Regions from separate parts of the Homo sapiens genome. Here all the other regions are linked to region 7. The links are contacts of gene promoters, found by promoter capture Hi-C in human tissues and cell types (Jung and others, 2019). All regions are on one chromosome and are shown on one strand. The core of a region is centred on a gene start or on the middle of the fragment in contact, and the rest is flanking DNA. Distances in the headings are between cores, read along the strand shown. Region 1 has its middle 5.5 kb from the start of RFX2. Region 2 overlaps RANBP3 (RAN binding protein 3). Region 3 overlaps RFX2 (regulatory factor X2). Region 4 overlaps RFX2 (regulatory factor X2). Region 5 overlaps RFX2 (regulatory factor X2). Region 6 holds the start of TNFSF14 (TNF superfamily member 14). Region 7 holds the start of GTF2F1 (general transcription factor IIF subunit 1).

Region 1 (3,536 bases), core at 341-2,840, 280 kb before region 7:
GAGTAGCAAAAGACAAGCCAACAGGTGGCAAATTCTTAGAGTCCTGCTTTTGTGCGGCACATTTTTGTAAATTAAGGTGACATTTACATACCATAAAATGAGCCATTTTAAAAGGAAACAGTTCAGTGGCATTTAGTACATTCACTATGTTGTACAACCACCACCTATATCTAATTCCAAAGCATTTTCTTTTTTAATTTGTTTTTTTTTTTATGATGGAGTCGCCTGTCACCCAGGCTGGAGTGCAGTGGCACGATCTCACCTCACTACAACCTTCGCCTCCTGGATTCAAGCGATTCTCTTGCCTCAGCCTCCCGAGTAGCTGGGATTACAGGTGCACGCCACCATGCCCAGCTAATTTTTGTATTTTTAGTAGACATGGGGTTTCACCATGTTGGTCAGGCTGGTCTCAAACTCTTGACTTCAAGTGATCCGGCCCCCTTGGCCTCCCAAAGTGCTGGGATTACAGGCGTAAGCCACCTTGCCCGGCCCCCATGGAGGGTTTTAAGCAGGGGTGTGTGCGGGGACAGGTGGGGTGGGGAGTGGGTGGAATGTCACCCGATCTGTGATTTTATTTTATTTTGTCAATTAATTATTTTTTTAAGAGACTCTTGCCGGGCGCGGTGGCTCACGCCTGTCATCCCAGCACTTTGGGAGGCCGAGGTGGGCGGATCACGAGGTCAGGGGATCGAGACCATCCTGGCTAACACGGTGAAACCCCGTCTCTACTAAAAATACAAAAAATTAGCCGGGTGTGGTGGTGGGCGCCTGTAGTCCCAGATACTCGGGAGGCTGAGGCAGGAGAATGGCGTGAACCCGGGAGGCGGAGCTTGCAGTGAGCCGAGATCGGTGCCACTGCACTCCAGCCTGGGCGACAAAGTGAGACTCCGTCTCAAAAAAAAAAAAGACTCTTACTCTATCGCCCAGGGTGGAGTGAAGTGACACGATCACAGCTCACTGCACCCTCAGACTCTTGGGTTCAAGGGATTCTCCCACCTCAGCCACCCAAGTAGCTAGGACTATAGGCATGTGCCACCAAGGCTGGCTAAATACAAGAATTTTTTTTTTTTTTGTAGAGACAGGGTCTTGATCTCCTGATGTCAAGTGATCCTCCTTCCTTGGCATCCCAGAGTACTGGGGCTACAGGGATGAGCCACCATGCATAGCCTAAACTATAATTTTAAAAGCTCAGTTGAGGCCAGGCCCAGTGGCTCATGCCTGTAATCCCAGCACTTTGGGAGGCCTAGAGGGGTGGATTACTTGAGGTCAGCCTGGCCAACATGGTGAAACCCGGTCTCTATTAAAAACCCAAAAATGAGCTGGGTATGATGGCAGGCACCTGTAGTCCCAGCTACTCTGGAGACTGAGGCAGGAGAGTAGCTTGAATCTGGGAGGTAGAGGTTGCAGTGAGCCAAGATCGCACCACTGCACCCCAGACTGGGCAACAGAGAGAGACACCATCTCAAAAAACAGAAATGAAAATAAAAATAAAAATGAAAGCTCAGTTGAGCCACCTCATGGGGAATAGATTGTAGGAGACAAAAGGGACAGAGAGAGATCCTAGGAGTCTGTCCCAGTTCTCCTGGGTGGGAAAGTATGGTGGCTTGGTTTAGGGACCTGGTAGTGGAGGCGGACATGAGTGGGTGGACTGAGGGTACATTTGGAAGAACACTCTAGTGGACTAGATGTGGGGAGTGAAGGATAACGTTTTAGGGTGTGACAGGAGGTGCCTTGTAGCTGGTTTGTACACTCCGTTCTGCTAGAATGCTTGTCTTTGAAATGTCAGTTAGTCCCAAAGTGGTGGATATAATAGGAAACAATTTGAGCACAATGTGGATTTTGCCTTCCTTATGCACAATTTTGTCTGCAAGAAACACTAGGTAAATAGAAAACTGCACCTGTCTGGACCAAATCGTGTAGGACTGCACAAAATATGCATAAGCACACATCTGAAATATCTACCAGCCACCTCAGCTTCCTGTGAATTATGAGCCACATTTATCTATGCCTAGCATTACAACTTTCCATCTGATTACAGATGACTTTTCTACCTTTTCACAATAACTCACAAGCTGCAATCCTTCAATAGCAACTTCCTCAAGCAAACTTCAGCCCTTTTTCATGGCAATGTGGCATATTTACTATAGTATTTATATATTTCTTAACTAACCAAAATGTGTAAAACTCTTCAATCTCAAAGAAGAAATCATGAGGGAAATTAGAAAATACATTAAGGGCCAGGCACAGTGGCTCACACCTGTAATCCCAGCAATTGGGGAGGCTGAGGCAGGTGGATCACCTGAGGTCAGGAGTTTGAGACCAACCTGGCCAACACAGTGAGATCTCATCTCTACAAAAATTAATTTTAAAAACTTAGCAGGGCGTGGTGGCATGTGCCTGTGGTCCCAGCTACTTGGGGGGCTGAGGCAGGAGGATCGCTTGAGGCCAGGAGATGGAGGCTGCAGTGAGCTATGATCACGCCACTGTACTCCAGCCTGGGTGACAGAGAGAGACCCTGTCTCTTAATAAGAAAAGAAAAGAGAAATTGCTGAAGTGCCACATTCCTGTTGACATAGGACACCCAGGGCAGACAGCGAGGAGACAGATGAAGCTTAATTCTTGAATGAATGGAGGTAAGGCTGATATTTTCTCCTAGTGGACTCTGGTCCAGTTCATTCCAGAGACAAAGCTTTGCCTCCTTAAAGTAGCCACTTGAACCATGTTGGAGGACCTTGTTGGGCACAGCTTGGAGAGGAAATAGCAGAGCTGAAGTCTGCAGCAGAAGAAGCCACAGGAGTGGATAACCAGGCAGTGGTAGAGGGAAAGGGGTGTGCACAAGGCAACACCTGACTCCCTTGCTCCTCTTACCTAAGGCCCAAGGGCAAGTGACACCAAGGAGGAATCATTTTCAGGATGGCCAACTCATCCTGGTTTCCTTGGGACTTTCCCACTTCTAAAACTCAAAGTTGCAGTTCCCCAAAATGTAAAAAGTGGAATTCCCATGGGATCCAGCAATTCCACTCCTAGGTGTCTGCCCACAGGAAGTGAAAACTTAGGTCTTCACAAAAACTTCTACATGAATATTCCTAGCAGCATTAGCTCATAAAGCCAGAAAATGCACACAACTCCAGTGTCCATCCATGGAGGAACAAATAAACAAAATGTGATCTAGGCCGGGCGCAGTGGCTCACGACTGTAATTCCAGCACTTTGGGAGGCCAAAGTGGGAGGATCACTTGAGGCCAGGAGCTTGAGACCAGCCTGGGCAACAAAGTGAGACCTCCATTTCTAAAAAAAAATTTAAAATATTAGCCAGGCATGGTTGCACACATCTGTAGTCCCAGCTACTTGGGAGGCTGAGGCAGGAGGACTGAGCTCATGAATATGAGGCTACAGTGAGCTGTGATTTCACTACTGTATTCTAGCCTGGGCAACAGAGGCTCTGTCAATGAAGGAAAAAAAAAGAAAGGAAGGAAGGAAGGAAGGAAGAGGAAAGAAAGGAAGGGAGAGAGAAAAAGAGAGAGAGAAAGAGAAAGG
Region 2 (3,421 bases), core at 7-2,506, 420 kb before region 7:
GGGACACACTTTTTGGAGCTGATGATATCCTACATTTTATGTACTTCTTTCTGGAATGCTCATCATCTTGGCATTACCTTCAACTACCGAACTCCAAGCCAACTTCCAACCACTCTCATCTCACCACCAGATACTTACACTTCCAACAAGCATTGCAGGGGCAACAGGCATTTGTTAAAAGGCCTTTACTGGACTCCGAGGTAGGTACTTTACATATCTAGTCTCATTCATCATAGACGCATCCCCATGACATCCTCCTCATATCCCACTCCACCCCATGAGGGCCAAGCCACATTCTGCCTTCTTTATTTCTACCTTTATCAGCCCTGCAGCCAAACCCTTCTAAGCTTCCACTCCTGCGCCACCCAGACCGTAAGCCCCGGGGGGCAGAACTTGCACTTCTGAACAGAAACCCCATAAAGTTATACAAAGTCAGCAACTCTGCCTACAACTGTATGGATGGCTGGGTTCAGTGGCTCATGCCTGTAATCCCAGCACGTTGGGAGGCCGAGGCATGTGGATCACTTGAGGAAAGGAGTTTGAGACCAGCCTGGGCAACATGGTGAAATCGTGTCTCTACCCAAAATACAAAAATTAGCTGGGCCTGGTGGGATATGTAATCCCAGCTACTCGGGAGGCTGAGACCCAAGCATCACTTGAACCCAGGAGGTGGAGGTTGCAGTGAGCTGAGATAGCACCACTGCACTCCAGCCTGGGCGACAGAGTGAGACTCTGTCTCCAAAAAAAAAGAAAAGAAAGAAAAAAGAAAAAACTGCGTGGAGAGATGGAGGATCCAGCTTTAACGGCACTTTTCTGTTCCGCCACTAGGTGGTGTGACACCAACACAGCTGAGGCAACATGCAAGTGGCTGAAGACTCGGGAAAGTTCCAGTAGAGACAACAGGAATCCCCTCCTCTCTACACGGAAGCTTACAGGAAGGAAATCCAAGAACTACAGAATTTATGCTGAGGCAGCAGAGCAAAACTGATGATACTGGAGAGCGCGGGCTCTGGTCTTTGTGTGTGTTCAAACCTGCCCTGGCCACTTACTTGCGGTTGGGATCCCAGATAAGACAATGTACCTCTGGCACAATGTCTTCATTTGCATATCAGGGCTGTTATTTCACCCCAGGCAGCTTCGGCAAGGATGAAATGAAATGCTGCACATGCCGTGTTTGGGGAAGTGGTTGGCACACAGGATGATTCCACACTGGCACTGGTAGCATTATTATGCTCGGAAGATTGCAAACATATTGATGCCACCTTAAAGCATAGGCCTTGGATTCAAGGACAGCTGCCAGTGCCCGGCAACGACAAATGCGTCAGAGTCTGACCCCTTTTAGGGGGTGGAATGGTTGGATCCAAGAGCTGCCTGGACGCCTGGGACACTCAAGGCAAACGCTCAGGTGCTCGGAATGCCTGAGCCCTTCTGAGGTCACAGGAAACAGGTGGGATCTGAAGGCAGGCCGAGCCGAGCAGCCAAGCCTTGCTCTCACCAGCAGGATCTACCAAGCACAGACTTGTGCTAGGCACCGAGCTTGCCACTGGAGACAGGAAAGAAATGGCAGACAAGGCCGCAGCTCTCTACTGGGAAAGAGAAAACAAACAAGTACCTGCTGTGTGCAGAGATAACTGGGTAGTTCTGGAGCTGGGTGCTGCAGAGAAAATACCACAGGATGGTGGGAGAGAGTGAGTGAATGGGTAAGGCCTCGCTGAAGCTCACACATGAAGGGTGAGCAGGGATGAGCCAGGTGAAGGCAGGGGATCCCAGGCAGAGGGGACCCCAAGTCAAAGGTTCTAAGGAAAGGAAGAGCCTGGAGGCCCATGTTTGGAGGGGAGGAGAACGGGAAGGGCTGGGTGGAGCCCACAGGACGTTCAGCCTTGCAGGCCATGCTGACAAATCTGGATTTATCCAGTGTAAAGGTTGGGGCCCAGGCTCTGGACTCTTAGGACCCAGTGGCCATCACCATCAATGCTGCAAAACATCCTCTCTCCTCTGAGCAGAGGGTAACTGCCTGTTTTCTCACCCTCTCCCCCAGAGAAAGGCAAGTTCTCAAGGACCGTTTCCACTCACGCTCTGCTCTCACAGATGCAACGCAGGAATTAATTCTGGGTAAATAAGTTCCCAAAATTCTCTGTGGCAAACCTGGGGGAGTTTAATTTAGCAAAGGCATTTTAAACTTACTGCAAAAGGCAAGGCCTGCCTTCTAAACATGTGTATGGAGTAACTACTACTGTCTCTAGAATTTCCTCCCTTTCTTTGAACACCATAAACAGCGACAGCGAAATGCAGTGCCCTACGCGGGTCAGTTTTCAGGGGTGAACGAGTGCCCATTACCTAGAGTTTACTGACTCACCGGGAAGGACAAGCATGAACTCCTAGACTCCATGGCTGGAGACAGGCGCACTGGCCCTAGCCAGCCCTACCTGCTTCCATGGCCTCGGGCTTCAGCCCCTGTGAAATGGTGCAGCCAGGACTCAGGCATCCCTGAAGGTTCTTCCCAGCCCTTACATTCTGTCAGGTCCTCACCCTGGACCAGAGGCAGTGTTAAAGGTCAAGGAAAAGACTGTTCTTCCTGAAGAGGGATATGATGTCCATTGAGGCCTACTCAGCTGCCAAAAGGCCAGAATAGAAAAATAAGGTTGGGAGGAAGGGCCTTAAACTCTAGCTGGCAATTAATTTATTCCTGGGTAGGTTCCTTTGATCCTATGACCAGTGGTTCTCACCCAGGAGTAACTTCATCTCCCTGGAGACACTGGTCAAAATCTGGAGACATTGTGACTGTCATGTTTGTGGGGGTGTGGAGGAAACTGTTACAGACATCTAGTGGATGGAGACCAGGGATGCTGACCAACATCCTAGGAGGCTCAGAACAGTGCCCTACCAGCAAGTGACCCAAGTCCAAATGTCAACTGAGCTGAGGGCAAGAAACCTTGCATTAATCTTGGGCAAAAAAATTGAGCTGGATCTCTAACTCACATTATACACCAAAATAAATCCCCAATAGATTAGATGGCACAAACCAGGGTGACCCCCCACCCTGGCTTCTGGGATTCACCGCCTCTCTCCCTCCCCACTCAGACTGTGGCTTTAAATGTGTACAGGCTCCTACGACCTCAGTAGGTTAGATAACTATGGAACACAAAGTCTCTTGGGTGTCAATGAAATCCCATAACCCAATGGTTCTCAAGTGGGGGCAATTCTGACATTAAGGGGACACTGGACAGTGTCTGGAGACCTTTTATCTTCTCATGACTGGGAGTGGATGGGTGGGATGACTGGGTGCTATGGCATCACATGAGTAGAGGCTAGAGGGGCTACCCAACATCCTCCAAAGCACAAGATGGCCACCACCAGCCCCAATGTCAAGAATACTGAGGTGGAAAAACCCTGGTATAACTCACAGGGTGCTTTCTCTCTA
Region 3 (3,486 bases), core at 230-2,729, 340 kb before region 7:
CGAAGTCTTGCTCTGTCACCCAGGCTGGAGTGCAATGGCATGATCTTGGCTCTGCCTCCTGGGTTCAAGTGATTCTCCCACCTCAGTCCCCTGAATAGACGAGATTACAGGCACCCACCATCATGCCTGGCTAATTTTTGTATTTTTATAGAAACGGGGCTTCACCATGTTGGTCAGGCTGGTCTCAAACTCCTGGCCTCATGTGATCTGCCTGCCTCAGCCTCCCAAAGTGCTGGGATTACAGGCATAAGCCACCGTGCCCAGCCTGTTCCCCTAATTTAACACACTATTTACCATGTGTTGTCTTATAGGTCAGACCAATGAGTCTGTGGCTTTTTGCCTGTGGGCATGCCCCAGTCCACAAATGCTTGGGTGCCAGAAAGCATCAGCCTCGTTATCCTGAAGGGTCAGAGGACAGAGTTCTGAATGCTGGGGTGTGGAGATTCTGGAAGAGAGAGAGCCACAGAAGGGGTGAGCCCTCAAATCTTCCTACAAAATACACCTGAATCTTTGGCTAAGCAACTACACCACAAAGGTGTGGGGGAGATACCAGGGGTCTTGGGGAAAAACCAGCAGTGCAAAGATAAAAAAATTAAGTGAAGATTTCAGCTGCTGCCTGTTGCAGGAGGGAGAGTTTGAATCTAGCCAAGTCACTTGCCTTCAGGGGAACTCAGATGAACCTACAGATTCTACAATACATCATTAATGATGTCCAGGACCCAGTAAAAACCATGAGCTATGAAAAGAAACAGGAAAGTGTAACATACACTCAAAAGAAAGAGTAACAAATAAAAAGAAAAAAGAAAAGCAGTTAATTATAACCAAACGCAAGATAACCCAGATGATACAGATAGCATTCAAGGACTAAAGCAGCTACTAAAAATAACTTCAAGAACTTAAAGGAAGTTATATACATAATGAATGAACATATGGGAATCTCAATCAAGAAACAAAGTATAAAAGGAGAACCAAATAGAAATTCTAGAGCAATAACTGAAACAAAAACTTAACTGGATGCACTCAACAGCTGGTTAAAGATAATGGAAAGAGTTAGTGAACTTAACAATAGATAAAAAGCATTTACCCAATCTGAAGAATGAAGAGAAAATATATGAAGAAACATGAATAGAACAAACTGTCTAATATATATGTAACGAGAGTCCCAGAAGAGAAAAAGAGAATGTAAGAGAAAAAAATATTGAAAAATGGCCAAACACCTCTACATTGGGTGATGGATATCAACTTAGAGGTCCAAAAATCTCAACAAACCCTAAAAAGAATACAAAGAAAGCCAAGATAGGTATGTCATGGTTAAACTGTTAAAAGAAGCAGTCAGAGAAAAACTACATATTATATTCGGAGAACAAGGGCACAGATGATGACTGGCTTCTCATCAATAACAATGGCAACCAGAAGACAATGGAGTGACATTTTTAATATGCTGGGGGGGAAAACCCTATCAGCCCAGAATTCTATCTCCAGCAAAACTATTCTTAAAAACTGAAGGTGGAATAAAGACATTTTTTGCATAAACAAAACCTGATAAAATTTTCTGCCTACCATGAGAAATGCTAATGGAAGTTCTTCAGAATGAAAGGAATTAATACCAGATGGTAAATTTGGATCTATTAGGAGTAAATATCACTTAAAATGATAAATACGCAGGTAATTATAAAAAACCGTATTTTTATATATTTTATATTTTTCCTTTTCTTCTCTTAATTTATTTTAAATACATAAAACTATTTAACAAAAACTTTATAACACTCCATTGTGGGGTTTATATCATATGTAGATGTTCTCCATGACAGTTGTAACACAGAGGATGGGGACAAATTAAGTTATACATTCAAGGTTCTTTTATTTTACCTAAAGTAGTAACATGTTAACTCTATAAATTGTGATAAATTAACAATGCACATTGTAACCTCTGAAGCATCCACTAACCAAAAAAATATATATACAAAAAGGTATAGCTAAAAAGCTAATAGAGAAATCAAATGAAATCCTACTTAACATATTTGATTATCTAAATAAAGGCAAGAAATAAAGAACAGAGAAACAAACAAACAAACAGATGGCACAAATAGAAAGCAAATGGCAGAATTGCTTTGCTAAATCTAGACATATTAATAATATATTAAGTGTAAATAGACTAAATTCTTGAATGAAAAGGCAGAAATGATCAGCCTGGATAACAATCAAGATCCCATTATATGGTCCCTAAAAGAAACCCTCCTTAAAAATAAAGGCACACATAGGTTGAAAGTAATAGAATAAAAAGAGATCCACTGTGCAAACTCTGATCTTTTATTTTTATTTATTTATTTTTTTGAGATGGAGTCTCGCTCTGTTGCCCAGGCTGGAGTGCAGTGCCACAGTCTCAGCTCACTGCAAGCTCCACCTCCCAGGTTCACGCCATTCTCCTGCCTCAGCCTCCCGAGTAGCTGGGACTACAGGTGCCCGCCATCACACCAGGCTAATATTTGTATTTTTAGTAGAGACGGGGTTTCACCTTGTTAGCCAGGATGGTCTCCATCTCCTGACCTCTTGATCCACCCACCTCGGCCTCCCAAAGTGCTGGGATTACAGGTGTGAGCGCCACACTCAGCCTGCAAACTCTGATCTTAAGAAAGCTGGAGCGGCTGTAATAATCAGACAAAATAGACTCTGAGATGAGAAATATTACTAGCAATACTAGAGACATTGACAAGACAAGGAATATTACTGCAGATAAAATTTCATCATAAGATGATCAATTTATCAGTATGACATATTGATTACAGATATGTATGTACCTAGTAATACAGCTTCAAGATACGTAAAGTAAAAATTAACAAAACTAAAGGAGGAAATAAACAATCATAATCGGAGATTTTAAACATCCTTCATTCAGTAATTTTGATTACTGAATCAAAATTAGAAGAACTAAGCAGAAATATTACTAAGGATACAGAATATCTGAATTATATTATCAACCACATTGATGTAATTGACATTTAGAGAACACTACAATCAAAACCTGCACATTCTTTTCAAATGCACATGGAATATTCACTGTGATGGGTCATGTTCTGGGCCATAAAATAAGCCTCAATACATTTCAAAATACCATAATTATACAGAGCATGTATGCACTTTGACCACAGTGGAGTAAATTAGAAATCAGTAAGAAGGTTAGAAAAATGCCAAATATTTAGAAAACTTAAAATACACCTTCAAAATAATCCATGGGTCAAATAATAAACCCCAAAGAAAAATAGAAAATATTTTGAACTGAATTATAATGTAAACACTTTGTATCAAAATTTGTGGGCACTGGTACAAATATTGTGGGTGAAAAAAAGAAGTAAAATTATTAAGAAAAAAAAGTGGGCACACCTAAAGCAGTGCTTAGAAAGAGATGTTTAGCTTTATATGCTTATGTTAGAAAGATTTAAGAACGTTTTCAACCTTAAAAAGCTATATAGAAAGACAAACAAACTA
Region 4 (3,451 bases), core at 526-3,025, 310 kb before region 7:
CTTACAGAAACCTAGACGCTACAACCTACGTAGCACACCTGGGCTGTATGGTATAACCTATTGCTCCCAGGCTACAAACCTGTCTAGCATGTGACTGCAGTGAACAGTGCAGGCAATTGTAACACAGTGGTAAGTATTTGTATCTCCAAACATGGCTAAGCATAGAAAAGGTACAGGAAAAATACAGCATTATAATCTTATGGGATCACTTGTATATGTGGTCTGCTGTTGACGGAAATGTTATGCATGGCATGACTGCATTATAAGCAAATAATTAAAGTTAAGTAATAACACACAAGAATCTAATCTTGCCGGAAAGGGCACTGTAAAAGTGAATTGCAAGAGAAGCTCACAGGAATTAGATGACTTCTGTGTCTCCCCTTTGACAGTAATGGATGCATCCACGCACACGGCTCATTCCTGTTTTCAGTGATGCGCTTCCTTACTATTATTTGCAAAGGGAATTTGTCTGTTCTGACCACACAACTCTACAGAGATACAAACATCACATGGGCACCTCTGCCTTTTCTGTTTACTACTAACGTAGATTGTCATGTAATTTTTGCCCTTCCATGCCTGTTCTTCTGAGGAGAAATTCCCAGTGTTGAGCAGATTTTGAAAGAGATCCAGACTGATGAAAGATTAAAAACCACTGGGCTACAGCAGTATGTCTTTTTTTTTTTAATCTTTTAAAACTTAAATTCACAAATTTGAGGACTCCAATTCAGACGAGCTTCGTTGTATAAACCAGGCAGATCTGTGGTCTTTAGAAGAAAGTGACAGAATCAGTTCACTTCCTGGGTGGGGACTGAGCACAGGCAGATGGTCGCAGCGGGTCAGAAGCCACAAGCTGCAGAGACAGACTCATGATAGACAGGGCGACAGGCATAACCTTCACAGGGGCGAAGCGAGACGCACACCCGTCTCCAGCAGGGAGCCACAGTCCACAGGTGGCTACTCCTCCCTCCCACTGCCCTGTATTTAGGAATTCAAACAGCCTGGGAAGGGACTGTGCTGATAATTGGCTCTGCTTTCAAAGAACACTTAGGAGATAATTAACCCACAGTCCACCAAGCCCAGGAATTGAGGATCGAGGATCAGAGGAAGCCCAGGAGGGAGATGCCTGCCAGAGGCGAGTAAAGGGACTTAGAGAGAAGTGCAGTTTTTTCTAGCATCCACCCATCCAACCCAAGGAAGCCCATCTGATTTACCACATCTAGCCAGTGACCTTGATCAGTTCCACAGCCAGGCATTAAGGCGAGTCCCCACTAACTTTCTCACCTCAGAGAAGCCCGATTCCAATTCTAGCCCCTCCCTGGACTCTGTCAGTAATTCCTAGCAATGCCTTCACTCTAAAAAATCCAGCTACAACAAAAGATTCAGATGCTGCAGAATTTATTTTGATTTGGAGGTTTCAGCTCCAAATCAAAGGGCTGATATCATGGAAATAGCTTTTTTGACAGCTAAACAGAAATTATTTTCCTTGATTAGCCATGGCACATTCGCCCTTCTTAGGTGGACAGCGTGTTTTGATACGAAGGTGATGGGTTACAGGTGCTGGGTTTCTCCACATGGGCAGTTTCTCCCCAGGAGTCTCACTCCTTACATCATCATCTAGAGCAGTAATTAATTTCAGAAACCACTCCTGGCTGCCATAAGCTGCACACCCACTTCCAGAACTGGCTTAACCCGCCAGGAAGCCACAGTCCTCAAGGGACAGTCACCCAGAGCTGCATGTTGGTGAGTCAGAGACGAGAACAAAGAGGAAGCAATGACCCCTGAACACAGAGCCCTTCCCAGCCCAGAGTGCTGCTCTAAGCCTAACCCAGGCTGGCCAGGGCCTGAAAGACAAAGAAGAATGCCACAGAGAAGGGCCAGGGCACTACAGCTTTTTTTTTTTTTTTTTTTTTTTTTGAGACGGAGTTTCACTTTTGTTGCCCAGGCTGGACAGCAGTGGCGTGATCTCGGCTCACTGCAACCTCCGCCTCCCGCGATTCTCCTGCCTCAGCCTCCTGAGTGGCTAGTATTACAGGCATGTGCCACCATGCCCCGCTAATTCTGTATTTTTAGTAGAGATGGGGTTTCTCCCTGTTGGTCAGACTGGTCTCGAACTCTCGACCTCAGGTGATCCACCCGCCTCAGCCTCCCAAAGTGCTGGGATTCCAGGCTTGAGTCACCATGCCAGCCCAGCATTTTTTTTTAAAGGCACAGTTCTCATAGGTATAAGAAGGCAACGAAATTCATCCTGCAAGATGGATGTAGCCAAAGACTCTTCTTTAATTACAACAAACTGGAGAAGATAACAAAGTAAATATTATTCCTCTCTCTCTTAGAGAAAGCAAAAATATGTTAAACACCATTGAAGAGCCTAAGGGGTTTTATAAACCTCAAAATCAGCATCACATTCATATACACATGAGTACTAGTCACATATAGCCAAGTAATGTGCGTTAGACCAGGGGGTGGCAAGCTTTTTTTGTAAAATGTGGAATAGTAAATATTTTAGGTTTTGCAGGTCAAGCGCTCGCTGTCAAGATGACTCAACCCCATCCATTGTAGGGTGAAATGACTGTGGCTGTGTGCCAATAAAACTTTATTTATGGTTCCAGTTTTAGTATATTTGCTGCTGAAGCAAGCACAATTTATGGACACTGAAATGTGAATTTCAGATAATTTTGTATGTCCTAAAATATTCTTCTTTTGATTTTTCCAACTACTTAAAAATGTAGGAAAAAAGCATTCTTAGTTCATGGGCTGTACAAAAACAGGCAGTGAGTTGGATTTAGCCCATGGGCTAGTTTGCCCACTCTGTATTAGACTCAGATGTTTGGACTCATGTCTTTAAAACAGAGCCTAAAATAACTCCAAATAAATAAAAGGGCAGGTATCAAATAGCCCATGTAATGACAAATAACCACGCTAGAAATCTGCGTCCAGCAGGTCAGGGACACTCTGGGGGTGAAGACCAACACTCCTGTCCTGTCTCCATCTCAGTGGCGGAGGATGTGGGGTTTTGGGCAGTCTCTGAAAAGGGAGTGTGCACGGGCAGGAGCTGGAGCAATGTCACAGGGAAGGGGGAGGCCAGCCCTCATGTCCTCTGGATTCTGACCCTGTGCTATGGTTGGAATGTTGTGTCCCCCCAAAACTCACATGTTGAAACCTAACCCCCAATATGACGGCATCTGGAGGTGGGGCCTTTGGGAGATGATTAGGTCATGAGCATGGCACCCACAGGAATGGGATTAGGGTCCTTGCAAAAGAGGCCCCAGAGACCTCCCCTGCCCCTTCCATCACGTGAGGACACAGCTAGAAGGCAGAAGCCGAACCAGAAAGCAGGCCCTCCCCAGACACTGAATCTGCCAGTGCCTTGATCTTGGACTTCCCAGCCTCCAGAGCTGACTGCAACACATTCCTGTTGTTTAGAAGCCAGCCAGTCTCTAATATTTTTGTT
Region 5 (3,459 bases), core at 763-3,262, 320 kb before region 7:
CCTGAGAAGAAAGGAAGACAGATTCTATACTGTTAGAATTTGAATCTGTGTTGCAGGGAGATGAGGAATTTGAAGCCAGACTCTTGGGCTGTTAATGTATGGCTAAGTGGTGATGTGGTGACAACCTTGAATGCTAGTCCTGGAGGTCAAATCACCAGCAGCTGGTGCCATGGGAGGCTTTGCTTAGGGGACACGGCTGGGTTCTGCCTGGATGCTGCATCCCAAGGGAGGCATTGAGGTGCGGCTGTGAGGACTCCAAACCCCATGTCCAGAAGGATGAGTAACAGAGATCCTGTGTCATTCATTGATTTCAATAAAATATTTATTGGATCCATAGCATGGGCCTGGCATTGACCAGTCATCAAAACACAATTCCCTGCCCTCATGGAGTTTCTATTCTAGACCATGCGGGAGGATAGGAGCATATGGACAGTAAACAAGGTAAGTGAGAAAAATATGTCGTACGTCAGATGACACCCTATATCATATGGTGACAAGTACCAGGGGGAAAAGGAAGCAGACAGAAGGAGTGCTGGGATAGGAAGGGGTTGCAATTTTTAAAGCGTTGTCAAATGCTTCCCTGGGTGGGCTCATTAAAGAGATGAGGAAGGTGTGGGACGGAGCTGTCCAGATATCCTGGGGAAGAGCGTTCCTAATGGAGGGAAAAGCCAGTACAAAGGCCCCGAGGTGGGACAATGCCTGGCTTGAAACTGGAGCTGAGTGAACCAGAAGGCAAGGAGAAAGGCCCACACAGGCCATTGTAGGGGCTCTGGCTTTTGCTTGGGGTAAATGGAAGCCATCACAAGGTTTGAGCCCAGGAATGGCCTGGTTTGACTTGCATTTTAACCAGGCCCCTCTGGCTGCTGGGTTGAGAATAGGGGAAGAAGGAAAAGGGTGGGAGCAGAGAGAGCAATCTGGAGGCTAATGTGATAATCTGGGCAAGGGAGGGGGGCCTGGCTGTGAGCCATGGAGGGGCAAAGCCGTCAGACTCTGGATAAACATAGGAGGTAGAGTCAGCCAGATCTGCTGACGGGTCAAGGGTACCTCCAAGGTTTTTGGCAACTAAAAGGATGAGGTCAGGAAAATTACCCAAGAAAAAGGCCTGGAGAGCACTTGGGAGTTGAGTTCTGAAGGTGTAAAGTGTGAGAGGCTCCTAGACACCCAGGTTGAGATGCTGAGAAAGCAGGCAGATTACATAAGTCTCAGGCTGAGGGGTGAGCTGGAGCCATCAGTGTATAGAGAATGCAGGCTGGAGCCATCAGTGTATAGAATATATGAACTAGAGCCATCAATGTATAGATAACATAGCTGGAACCATCAGTGTGTAGGGGACATGACCTAGAGCCACCAGTGTCTAGAGGATGTGGGCTGAAGCCATCAGTGTATAGAGAACATGGGATGGGGCCATCAGTGTATAGATGACATGGCTGGAGCCATCAGTGTATAGAGAACATGAGCTAGAGCCACCAGTGTATACAGGATGTAGGCTGGAGTCATCAGTGTATAAATGACCTAGTTAAAACCATAAGACTATCTGGGCTCACCAAGGAAGAGCAGAGAGAAGAGGCCTAGGGCTGAGTTCTGGGGCTGTCTACCATTTAGAGATCCCAAAGAAGCAGGAGCCTGAAAAGAGGCCAAAGAAGTATAAGCAAGTGGTGTCCTGAGAACCAAGTGACTCTGGGGCTGAGTGGTGATCACTGGAATCAGCAAAGTGGAGGTCACCAGTGATTGTGACAGAGGAGCTCCAGGGGAAAAGTGTGTGCAAAAGCCACAGAGGTTGGAGCAGGTTCAAGAGAGCCCCAAGTGGAGCAGAACTGGAGACAGGAGGACCAGATGGCTCTTTTGAGGAATTTTTGCTAGAAAGATAGGAAGAGGAATGGGGAGGCAGCTGGAAGAGGAAACTGAGAGCGGGTTTCTGAAAATGAAAGAAATAATAGCAGGTAGGACCTACCAGGAGGGAACTGGGATAGGAGAAAGAAGGGAGACTTGCAAGTGGATGTTCTTTCATGGATGGGATGGGATGGGATGTGGATGGGATGGGATGGGATGTGGATAGGATGGGATGGGATGGGATGGGATGGGATGGGATGGGATGTGGATGGGATGGGATGGGATGTGGATGGGATGGGATGGGATGGGATGGGATGGGATGTGGATGGGATGGGATGGGATGTGGATGGGATGGGATGTGAATGGGATGGGATGGGATGGGATGGGATGTGGATGGGATGGGATGGGATGGGATGGGATGGGATGGGATGGGATGTGGATGGGATGGAATGGGATGTCCTGCAGAACACAGGTGGGCTTGGCCAGGGCTAGGTGCATGGATATGCATCCACCAGTACAGGAGAGAAGACAGAGTGTCCACCCTGGAAGGTGACACCAAGTCATAGTCCTTCTGGAGGGGGGTCCTGGTCCCCAGTCCCATTCTTCATCCATGGAATCCCTGTGTTTACTCCTCGCCAGCCTCAATAGCTGGCTGCTGGGGGCCTCCACTCTCAGCAGGGTGGACGGGCTTGAAGCCACACGATAGGGCCTGGGTATAAAGTATGATGACCTAGGTCCACAGACCTCACATCAGAGCCTCCAGCAGACCCTGGGTTCATAGTCACATATGGGCTCCATGTGACCAATACTTGCCCCCACCCCATGGTCCCACCTCAATGCCTGACAGAAGCCCCACTCCTCAGGTTTATGCACATGATTTGCCTTTTTCACTGCTTTCTTTTTCTTTTCTAGACACAGGGTCTTGCTCTGTCACCCAGGCTGGAGTACAGTGGTTGGATCATAGCTCACTGCAGCCTCAAACTCCTGGGCCCTCAGCCCAGTGATTGTCCTGCCTTAGCCTCCCATGTAGCTAGGACTACAGGTGCACACCACCACGCCTGGCTACTTAAAACAAACAAACAAACAAATTGTAGTAGCAAGGTCCTACTATGTTGTCCAGGCTGGTCCTGAACTCTTGGCCTCAAGCAGTCTTCCCACCTCAGCCTCCCAAAGTGTGGGACTGCAGGCGTGAGCCCCCGTGCCTGGCCCTCACTGCTTTCCTTATGGTTACTCCATACCTCTTTTCAAATTTGCCAAATGGCTAATCTTTCCACACTCGAGTATTATTAGAAATGAGTTTTAATATACCTATTTTTCTTGCTATGTCAACGTACAAACATGCATCCTTAAATAAGAAAGTGTTAGAGTCACATATTAAAAATGCATTTCTTGCTAAGTCATGCTCGAATTATGCAAGATTGCAAGGAAATTTAATGCAAGACAAATGAGTGAGGCCAGGAATCTTGCTGTGAGAGTTTGGGAAGCAGAGCTCCCTGGCTCCAGACAAGGAATGGACTCAGCCTGACGGGAGGAGGTCTCGCCTGTCTTTGGGAGGGAAAGATCCTGTCGGTACTTTTAAGTGATCGTCTATCTTTGAGGCACAGACATATCTCAATTGGCCCGGGACAG
Region 6 (3,643 bases), core at 1,126-3,625, 280 kb after region 7:
AATCCCAGCACTTCGGGAGGCCGAGGTGGGCAGATTACCTGAGGTCAGGAGTTCGAGACCAGCCTGGCCAACACAGTAAAACCCTGTATCTACTAAAACTACAAAAATTAGCTGGGCCTGGTGGTGGGTGCCTGTAATCCCAGCTGCTCTGGAGGCTGAGGCAGGAGGATCGCTTGAACCTGGGAGGTTGCAGTGGGCCCAGATTGTGCCACTGCACTCTAGCCTAGGTGACAGAGTGAGATTCTATCTCAAAAAATAAATAAATAAATAAAAGGGTTTAATAAATAAATAACATTGCCCAGAGCAGTGGCTTACACCTGTAATCCCAGCACTTTGGGAGGCCAAAGTGGGAGGACAGCTTGAGGCCAGGAGTTTAAGACCAGCCTGGGCAACACAACAAGACCTCATCTCTACAAAAAATTTTTAAGATTAGCCAGGCATGGTGGTGCATGCCTGTAGTCCCAGCTACTCATGAAGCTGGGACAGGAGGCTTGCTTGAGCCCAGGAGTTCAAGGCTGCAGTGAGCTATGATCGTGCCACTCCACTCTAGCCTGGGAAGCAGAGTGAGACACAGTCTCTAAGATAAATAAATATGTAATTAATTAAATAAATAAGTAATATTTAAAAATACAGGGACAAGGCCAGGCGTGGTGGCTCACACCTGTAATCCCAGCACTTTGGGAGGCTGAGGCAGGTGGATCACTTGAGGTCAGGAGTTCGAGACAAGTCTGGCCAACATGGTGAAACCCCGTCTGTACTAAAAATACACAAATTAGCCAGGCACGGTGGCGGATGCCTGTGATCCCAGCTACTGCTCAGGAGGCTGAGACAAGGGAATCACTTGAACCTGGGAGGTGGGGTTGTAGTGAGCCAAGACTGCACCACTACACTACAGCCTGGGCTATGGGAGAGAAACCTTGTCTCAAAAAAAAAAAAATGCAGACAGCGAGATGGCTGGACACATGGACACCACCCTTGGGATATAGCACCTGCCACAGGGCACAGACCTCAACATCATCATGACGCTGAGAAGACACATGTGGGCTCAGATGCGTGGACATGTGGTTTGTGGTTTATGGATCCATGTGCGTCTACAGACACAGAGACCCAGAGACAAAGACAGACAACGTGAATACACCGGCTGCAGCTAGGCGGGTGTGTGGACATGTGGGTACACGCACATACGTCCACATGGGTATATGGACACGAATGTGTGGCCACCGGATCCAGACCCAGGACACAAAAGGGGCCAAGCCCACAGGGGTATGGTGTTGGGCACACATAGACCCCCAGGTGAGGCACACAGACAGGCGGACACATCCACAGCCAGCTGGAAGCAGACCGAGAAATTTCCACAGATGGAAATGGTCAGAGAATTAATGACAATCGCAGTAACAGTAATAAGAGTACCAGAGAAGGCCAGGCGCAGTGGCTCACACCTGTAATCCCAGCACTTTGGGAGGCTGAGGCGGGTGGATCTCCTGAGGTCGGGAGTTTGAGACCAGCCTGACAAACATAGAGAAGCCCCATCTCTACTAAAAATACAAAATTGGCCAGGCGTGGTGGCGCATGCCTGTAATCCCAGCTACTCGGGAGGCTGAGGCAGGAGAATCACTTGAACCCGGGAGGCAGAGGTTGCGGTGAGCAGAGATCATGCCATTGCACTCCAGCCTGGGCAACGAGAGTGAAACTCCGTCTCAAAAATAAAAAAGTACAGAGAAAATGCATGCGTGTGTGCACAGGGGTGTGCATGGCAGTGTTGGGGTGTCAGTTCCGACGGGTGGAGCTGGCATCGTCTGGTACTACACATGCCATAGCATACTTCGTCCCCTATGAAGAGACTGCCCTTATTTTGTAGATGAAGACACTGAGGTTCAGAGAGGTGAATTCACTTGCCCAAGGCTGGGAGCAGCAACCAGTCAAGCCAGCTGCTCTCAGCCTGTGCCCTGTCCTACACACACACACACACACACACACACACACACACACAGACACACAGTGACCCACAATGACACAGGGGAGCCCCCCTCACCTCCACCTGCTCTCAGCCCCCCGGTCCCACTCACAGGCAGGCGGGTGACCATCTCTCCTAGACGCCAGTGCAGCTGCAGGAGGAACCAGCCTTGGACGGCCAGCCCGGCCCCCATCAGCAACAGCAAGAGACCCAGACCCACCCGGGCCACACTGCACGACTGTCTCCGGTGGCTTCGTCCCAGCCTCGTGAATGGGATGTCGGTCTGTCCATCCACCACAAACACTGAGGGCCGTACGACACTCTCCTCCATGCCCAAGGTGTCTGGAGCAGGGCTGACACGCCTGGGTCCTTCAACCTCAGAGGAAACCGAAATTGCTCAACACTCCTGGGCTGTGCACGCTGCGGACAGGCACCCGTGGGCCGCCTTTAGAGCTGGGGTTCAGCCCCACCCCTTCCCCCACTCACCCTCCTCTTCTTCCGGTACCCGCCGCCCCCGGTCTTGGCCCTGTCTCACTCTCACTCATACAGACTCTCACACTTTCCAGAGGCTTCTGAAAATGTGACTCAGGTGGCAAGTGCAGTGGGGAGCCCCCAGCTTTCCCTTCTTGGATGCTTCATTCGCTTGGGGCCACCAAATATCGACTGAGGACTTTCTGCCCATGCCAGGCTCTGCTCTCGGTGTGGGGGATGCAGCAATGAACAACAGCAAGAAGGGTCCCTGCTCCTCTTCTGGTGGAGCCAGAGAGACAAGAAACCTCGTAAACAAGAAAATAATACGTTGTGGGTTTTTTTGTTCGTTTATTTGTTTTGTTTTTGAGATGGAGTCTCGCTCTGTTGCCCAGGCTGGAGTGCAGTGGCGCGATCTCAGCTTACTACAACCTCCACCTCCTGGGTTCAAGCAATTCTCCTGCCTCAGCCTCCCAAGTAGCGGGGATTACAGGCGCGTGCCACCACGCCTGGCTGCTTTTTGTATTTTTAGTAGAGATGGGTTTTCACCATGTCGGTCAGGCTGGTCTCGAACTCCTGACCTCAAGCGATCCACCCACCTCAGCCTCCCAAAGTGCTGGGATTACAAACGTGAGCCGCACCATGCCCGGCCTTCTGTTGTGTTTTGATGTGACAAGTGCAGTGAAAAACACAAGAGTGGAATAAAGGAGTGGATGTGTGCTCTGTGTGTGTGCTTGTCTGCATGCATATATGTGTGCAGTGTGTGCATGTGAATGTGTGTATTCAGTTGTGTGCATGCAAGTGTGTATCATGTACACATGTGCAGGCGCATGCCTGTGTATCATACATGTGCTGGCATGTAAATGTGCGTGCATATGTGGGCAGGTGCATGCATATGTGTATGGTCATCTGTGTGCATGTGCATGTGGTCCATGTACATGCATGCATGTGCACGTGTGTGTATGTGTGAACATGCATCACATGTGCAAGTGGGTGTGCATATATGTGCTGTGTGCAGGTGTGTGCATGTGTGTGTGCCTGTGCATTGGTGCGTGTATGTGTGTGTGCGCACTTGCACGGGTGTGTTCATGTGTGTGGGGAGGTCCATGTATGAGTGTGCATGCATTCAAGCGTGGATTTTTTTTTTTTTCGAGACGGAGTCTCGCTCTGTCGCCCAGGCTGGAGTGCAGTGGTGCGATCTCGGCTCACTGCAAGCTCCGC
Region 7 (3,677 bases), core at 622-3,121:
CCCTTGCCCAGATAAACCATGGCCAAAAATGTCCAACAGTGGGCACAGCTTCTAAATGTTCTCCTTTAAGGAGAGGCCTCTGGTGGGCCTACCAAACCTAACTTACAGGGACACCCAGGAGCTAGGCCTGGGCCTTTGCCATTTCCGTTTTTTTTTTTTTTTTTTTTTTTTTTTTTTTGAGGCAGGGTCTTGCTCTGTTATCCAGGCTGGAGTGCAGTCGTACAATCATAGCTCACTGCAGCCTTGAACCCCTGGGCTCAAGCGATCCTCCTACCTCAGCCTCCTATGTAGGACTACAGACCCACGCTATCAGCCCCAACTAACTTTTTAATTTTTTTGTAGAGTTGGGGTCTTGCTATTGTATTGCCCAGGCTGGTCTCAAACTCCTGGCCTTAAGCAAGCTTCCTGCCTCAGCCTCCCAAAGTGCTGGGATTACAGGTGTGAACTACTGCACCCAACCCTTTGTCATCTATCTTTTCTTCACTTGGAGAAAAGTGAGAAAATTAAGACTTAGTGACTATGACAGTTAAGCAACTATCACAACCACCAAGGTCAGGGTCAAGTTCTCTCACCACCCCAGCCCCTGACCCCCAGGACTCAGAGACTTACCTGATTCCACGTAGCAAAGTTGACTTTGTCGGCTGCATTAAAAGCCATGATGTTATATTTTTTGGTTGTATTCCTGGAGTGGATGAGAAGAGGTAGTGTCAATCCAATACAGCAATTCAATCATTAATTTAATCAGTCAATGCTATTGAACCATTAATTCAATCAACCACCCAACTGGATCGTTAATTCAATCAAATCATTACTTTAATTCAATCACTCAATTCAATTGAACCATTAATTCAATTCAATCATTCCATTCAATTGAATCATTAATTCAATTCAATTCACTCAACAAACCCACCCAGCTTCATTCAGCCTGTTTTGCCTGGCAACACTGGATACGGAAGACTCCAAGGATTCCCAGTCTGCCAGAGAAGCTAGACCCATCCTCTCCTGACCCCAGGCAGAAGAAGAGCAGATGGAGGGACGAAGATTTGGGGGAACCCAAGATGTGGAGATTATTGTGAACTCAGCCTTGGGGAGGAGGGAGGACAGGCAGGGAGTATTTCCTGGAGGAGGAAGATACTGGAGTTGAGTTTTGCAGAATCATCAAGAATTCACCCAGCAGAGTCACAGTTTAGGGGTTGAGGGGAGGCACTCATGGCAGAGGAACAGGATGTACAAAGGCCTGGAAAGGAAAGACAGCCTGACCACTTTGAAACAGGACGAGGAATATGTCCTTACAGCTGGCCTGGGCATCATGGGACCATATACTCCTCGAAGGTTAGGCCAGGGGGCTGGATCACCGTGTATTAATGCACTCATTCATTCATTCGTTCAAAAAAGCAGTGTTGTCCCCAGAGAAGCCTCAGCTTAATCCCAGCCCTGCCCTCCAAGTCTCTCCCGGTCTGGAGGGAGAACCACAGACAGGGCCAGAAATGGCTGGCTAAGAAGATCGTGAAGGTTTTCATTTTTGGGGGGTGGAGAGGAGTGGGAGATGGGGCTGGGGACTTACTTAGGAACTCGAACGACGTATTCAGTGACATTCTGGCTGCTAGGGCCCTGCGGAAAGAGGAAGCGGTGAGTGAGGGGTCGCCGAGGTCGCCGTCGGAACCCCCGAACCCCGCCAAATCCACACTCACTAGGGCCGCCATGGGCAATGGTCAGTGGTTCCGATCTGGTCCGACCCGGGTTCCTTTCGTCTCCTCTGGCGTGCGCGTCCCTCGATCCCGGGGAAGCCGCCGCTCGGTGTCGGGTCTCTGTGCCTGAGCGAGGACCCCAACCCTAGGCGCCTCTGGCGCTGGGAAAAGGTAACCGGAAGAGGCGCTCAAGCTACTCGGTCTACGCTTCTGCGGCCGCCTAACCCGGAAGCGAAACCCTCGAGCAGCCGCGTCGCGATGGCAACCTTCTTAGCGACTGTGGCCACCTCAGTGCGCAGTCACTTATGCTCCTCGGCGGCTATGGTCACCTCAAAAGGTCCACCGCGGTCCCTTTTTAGACTCAGCAAACCTAGGCCGAGTCTGAGATAAACTAACGGGCCTCTGTCGCTGGCGCTCTTGTATATAACGCGGTTAACTTCATCAAATGGGGGACCGCCCTCTCTCGTGACGTCAGCACCCAAGGACCGTGGGGCATCCTGGGTGGGAAGAGGGAGACGAATCCCCCTTGCGGGCTCCCAGGCACTTTGCGCATGCGCCTTGCCGCTCTGGACCTGGGGGGCCCAGAAGGCCGCGTCACCATAGCAACCGAGGCCTACTCGGGTCGGGTCGAACCGCCGCTTGGCTCCCCATGGGTCTGTTTGGGGTTCATTTCCTCCCCCTACCCCGAAGGGGTGGACCCCGTCATTCCCGCAAAATGACCGGGGCGGGGACCCTTGTGACGTTGAGCCGAGCCAGGAGGGGTCAGAGCCTGGGCGGGGTCGGGGCGCGACCACCCCAAGAGCTGCTGGCCGGATGGGTCTTTGCAAGTCCAAGCTGCCCGAGATGGGCAGGGCTCTGAGGCCCCAGGAGAAGGGTAACGTCGCGGGGGCGGCTGGCTGGCTTCCTGGGGGGAAGGGAAGGAAGCTGCCGAGAACAGGAGGGAGATGCAGGATCCCCTACCCCGTTCCAGGCATGCACACATCCCCCGAATCATGGCAGTAACACAACTGCGCATGCTCACGGCGCAACCATTCATTGCTCCACTTCGCAAATACTCCAGCACCTCCTGGGTTCGGGGCCCCGCAAGGTGAATCTGTCAAACCAGCTCCCCACGGAGGATTACAGTGTCCTCTCGAGGGTTACAGTGTCGTGGAAGAGACAGAGTCACAGCATGGGAATCTACAACCCAGGAAGGAGCAGGAGAAGCACAGCGGGGCTCTGAGGGCTCAGAGAAGAGGGGAGGTTTCAGTTGGGCACTGAGGGATGCATAGGAGTTGGCTAAGCAAAGGGAAGGCGGGCAAGACACAAAAGTTGGGCCATGAACTACAGACACCGTCGATGTGTCTGTTTTCATTTATTTCTCATCCACCACTAAATGTCAGGAACCGCCAACCCCTAGGAATATAGGAATGAGGGAGGCAGAAATAGTCCTTGCCCTCATGGAGTGTCTGGCTTGGGGGAGACAAGAACGAGTAAACGGCTGGGCACGGTGGCTCATGCCTGTAATCCCAGCACTTTGGGAGGCCGAGGCGGGCGGATCACCTGAGGTTGAGAGTTCGAGACCAGCCTGACCAACGTGGAGAAACCCCGTCTCTACTAAAAATACAAGATTAGCCGGGCGTGGTAGCACATGCCTGTAATCCCAGCTACTCGGGAGGCTGAGACAGGAGAATCGCTTGAACCTGGGAGGCAGAGGTTGTGGTGAGCCGAGATCGCGCCATTGCCCTCCAGTCTGGGCAACAAGAGCGAAACTCCGTCTCAAAAAAAAAAAAAAAAAAAAAAGAAGGAAAAGAAGGAAAAAAAAAGAACGAGTAAACAGAGAAGATCATGACAGACTGTGGCCATTGCTGTGGAGGAAATAGGTGTCTCAGACAAGGAGTGATGGGGGGAAGCTCTAGATGGAGGCTAGAGAAGGCCAGATGGAAGTTGTGGCCAGAAGGAACTGGGGCAGGCAGGGATTTTCCAAGCAGAGGAAACAGCAAGGGAGAA

Evidence for each region. Contacts are between HindIII fragments. The study calls those that stand out against the background at their distance.
Region 1: a contact is called between a fragment that was not itself captured here and the fragment with the promoter of GTF2F1 in region 7, in 2 of the 25 tissues and cell types used here (aorta and lymphoblastoid cells).
Region 2: a contact is called between a fragment that was not itself captured here and the fragment with the promoter of GTF2F1 in region 7, in 2 of the 25 tissues and cell types used here (dorsolateral prefrontal cortex and spleen).
Region 3: a fragment that was not itself captured here is called in contact with the fragment with the promoter of GTF2F1 in region 7 in 1 of the 25 tissues and cell types used here (dorsolateral prefrontal cortex).
Region 4: a fragment that was not itself captured here is called in contact with the fragment with the promoter of GTF2F1 in region 7 in 1 of the 25 tissues and cell types used here (dorsolateral prefrontal cortex).
Region 5: a contact is called between a fragment that was not itself captured here and the fragment with the promoter of GTF2F1 in region 7, in 1 of the 25 tissues and cell types used here (dorsolateral prefrontal cortex).
Region 6: the fragment with the promoter of TNFSF14 here is called in contact with the fragment with the promoter of GTF2F1 in region 7 in 1 of the 25 tissues and cell types used here (adrenal gland).

Annotation. Positions count from the first base shown.
Region 1 is chr19:6,114,192-6,117,727 of GRCh38, forward strand. No RefSeq gene overlaps it. Among named protein-coding and RNA genes, the nearest start is that of RFX2, 5.5 kb to the left of the region's middle. The HindIII fragment of the contact is 3,250 bases long and covers 1-3,215 here.
Region 2 is chr19:5,967,278-5,970,698 of GRCh38, forward strand. All of the region lies in intron 1 of RANBP3 (RAN binding protein 3), which reads right to left. Among named protein-coding and RNA genes, the nearest start is that of RANBP3, 9.2 kb to the right of the region's middle. RefSeq lists an enhancer at 701-995. The HindIII fragment of the contact is 6,212 bases long and covers 1-3,421 here.
Region 3 is chr19:6,049,562-6,053,047 of GRCh38, forward strand. All of the region lies in intron 1 of RFX2 (regulatory factor X2), which reads right to left. Among named protein-coding and RNA genes, the nearest start is that of RFX2-AS1, 11 kb to the right of the region's middle. The HindIII fragment of the contact is 9,272 bases long and covers 1-3,486 here.
Region 4 is chr19:6,086,323-6,089,773 of GRCh38, forward strand. The region is part of intron 1 of RFX2 (regulatory factor X2); the gene reads right to left. Among named protein-coding and RNA genes, the nearest start is that of RFX2, 22 kb to the right of the region's middle. RefSeq lists enhancers at 458-959, 881-950, 960-1,459. The HindIII fragment of the contact is 3,299 bases long and covers 127-3,425 here.
Region 5 is chr19:6,067,979-6,071,437 of GRCh38, forward strand. The region is part of intron 1 of RFX2 (regulatory factor X2); the gene reads right to left. All of the region lies in intron 1 of RFX2-AS1 (RFX2 antisense RNA 1), which reads left to right. Among named protein-coding and RNA genes, the nearest start is that of RFX2-AS1, 7.1 kb to the left of the region's middle. The HindIII fragment of the contact is 5,534 bases long and covers 1-3,459 here.
Region 6 is chr19:6,667,785-6,671,427 of GRCh38, forward strand. It overlaps TNFSF14 (TNF superfamily member 14), which reads right to left and starts at 2,376. Exons shown (of 4, transcript NM_001376887.1): 1 at 2,067-2,376. The coding sequence starts at 2,285. RefSeq lists enhancers at 896-985, 1,046-1,235, 2,136-2,225, 2,606-2,835 and a silencer at 3,406-3,505. The HindIII fragment of the contact is 26,746 bases long and covers 1-3,643 here.
Region 7 is chr19:6,391,293-6,394,969 of GRCh38, forward strand. GTF2F1 (general transcription factor IIF subunit 1) reads right to left here and starts at 1,872. Exons shown (of 13, transcript NM_002096.3): 1 at 1,692-1,872; 2 at 1,565-1,611; 3 at 610-682. The coding sequence starts at 1,703. MIR6790 (microRNA 6790) reads right to left here and starts at 1,691; the gene lies at 1,629-1,691. It also overlaps the pseudogene LOC390877. The HindIII fragment of the contact is 23,950 bases long and covers 1-3,677 here.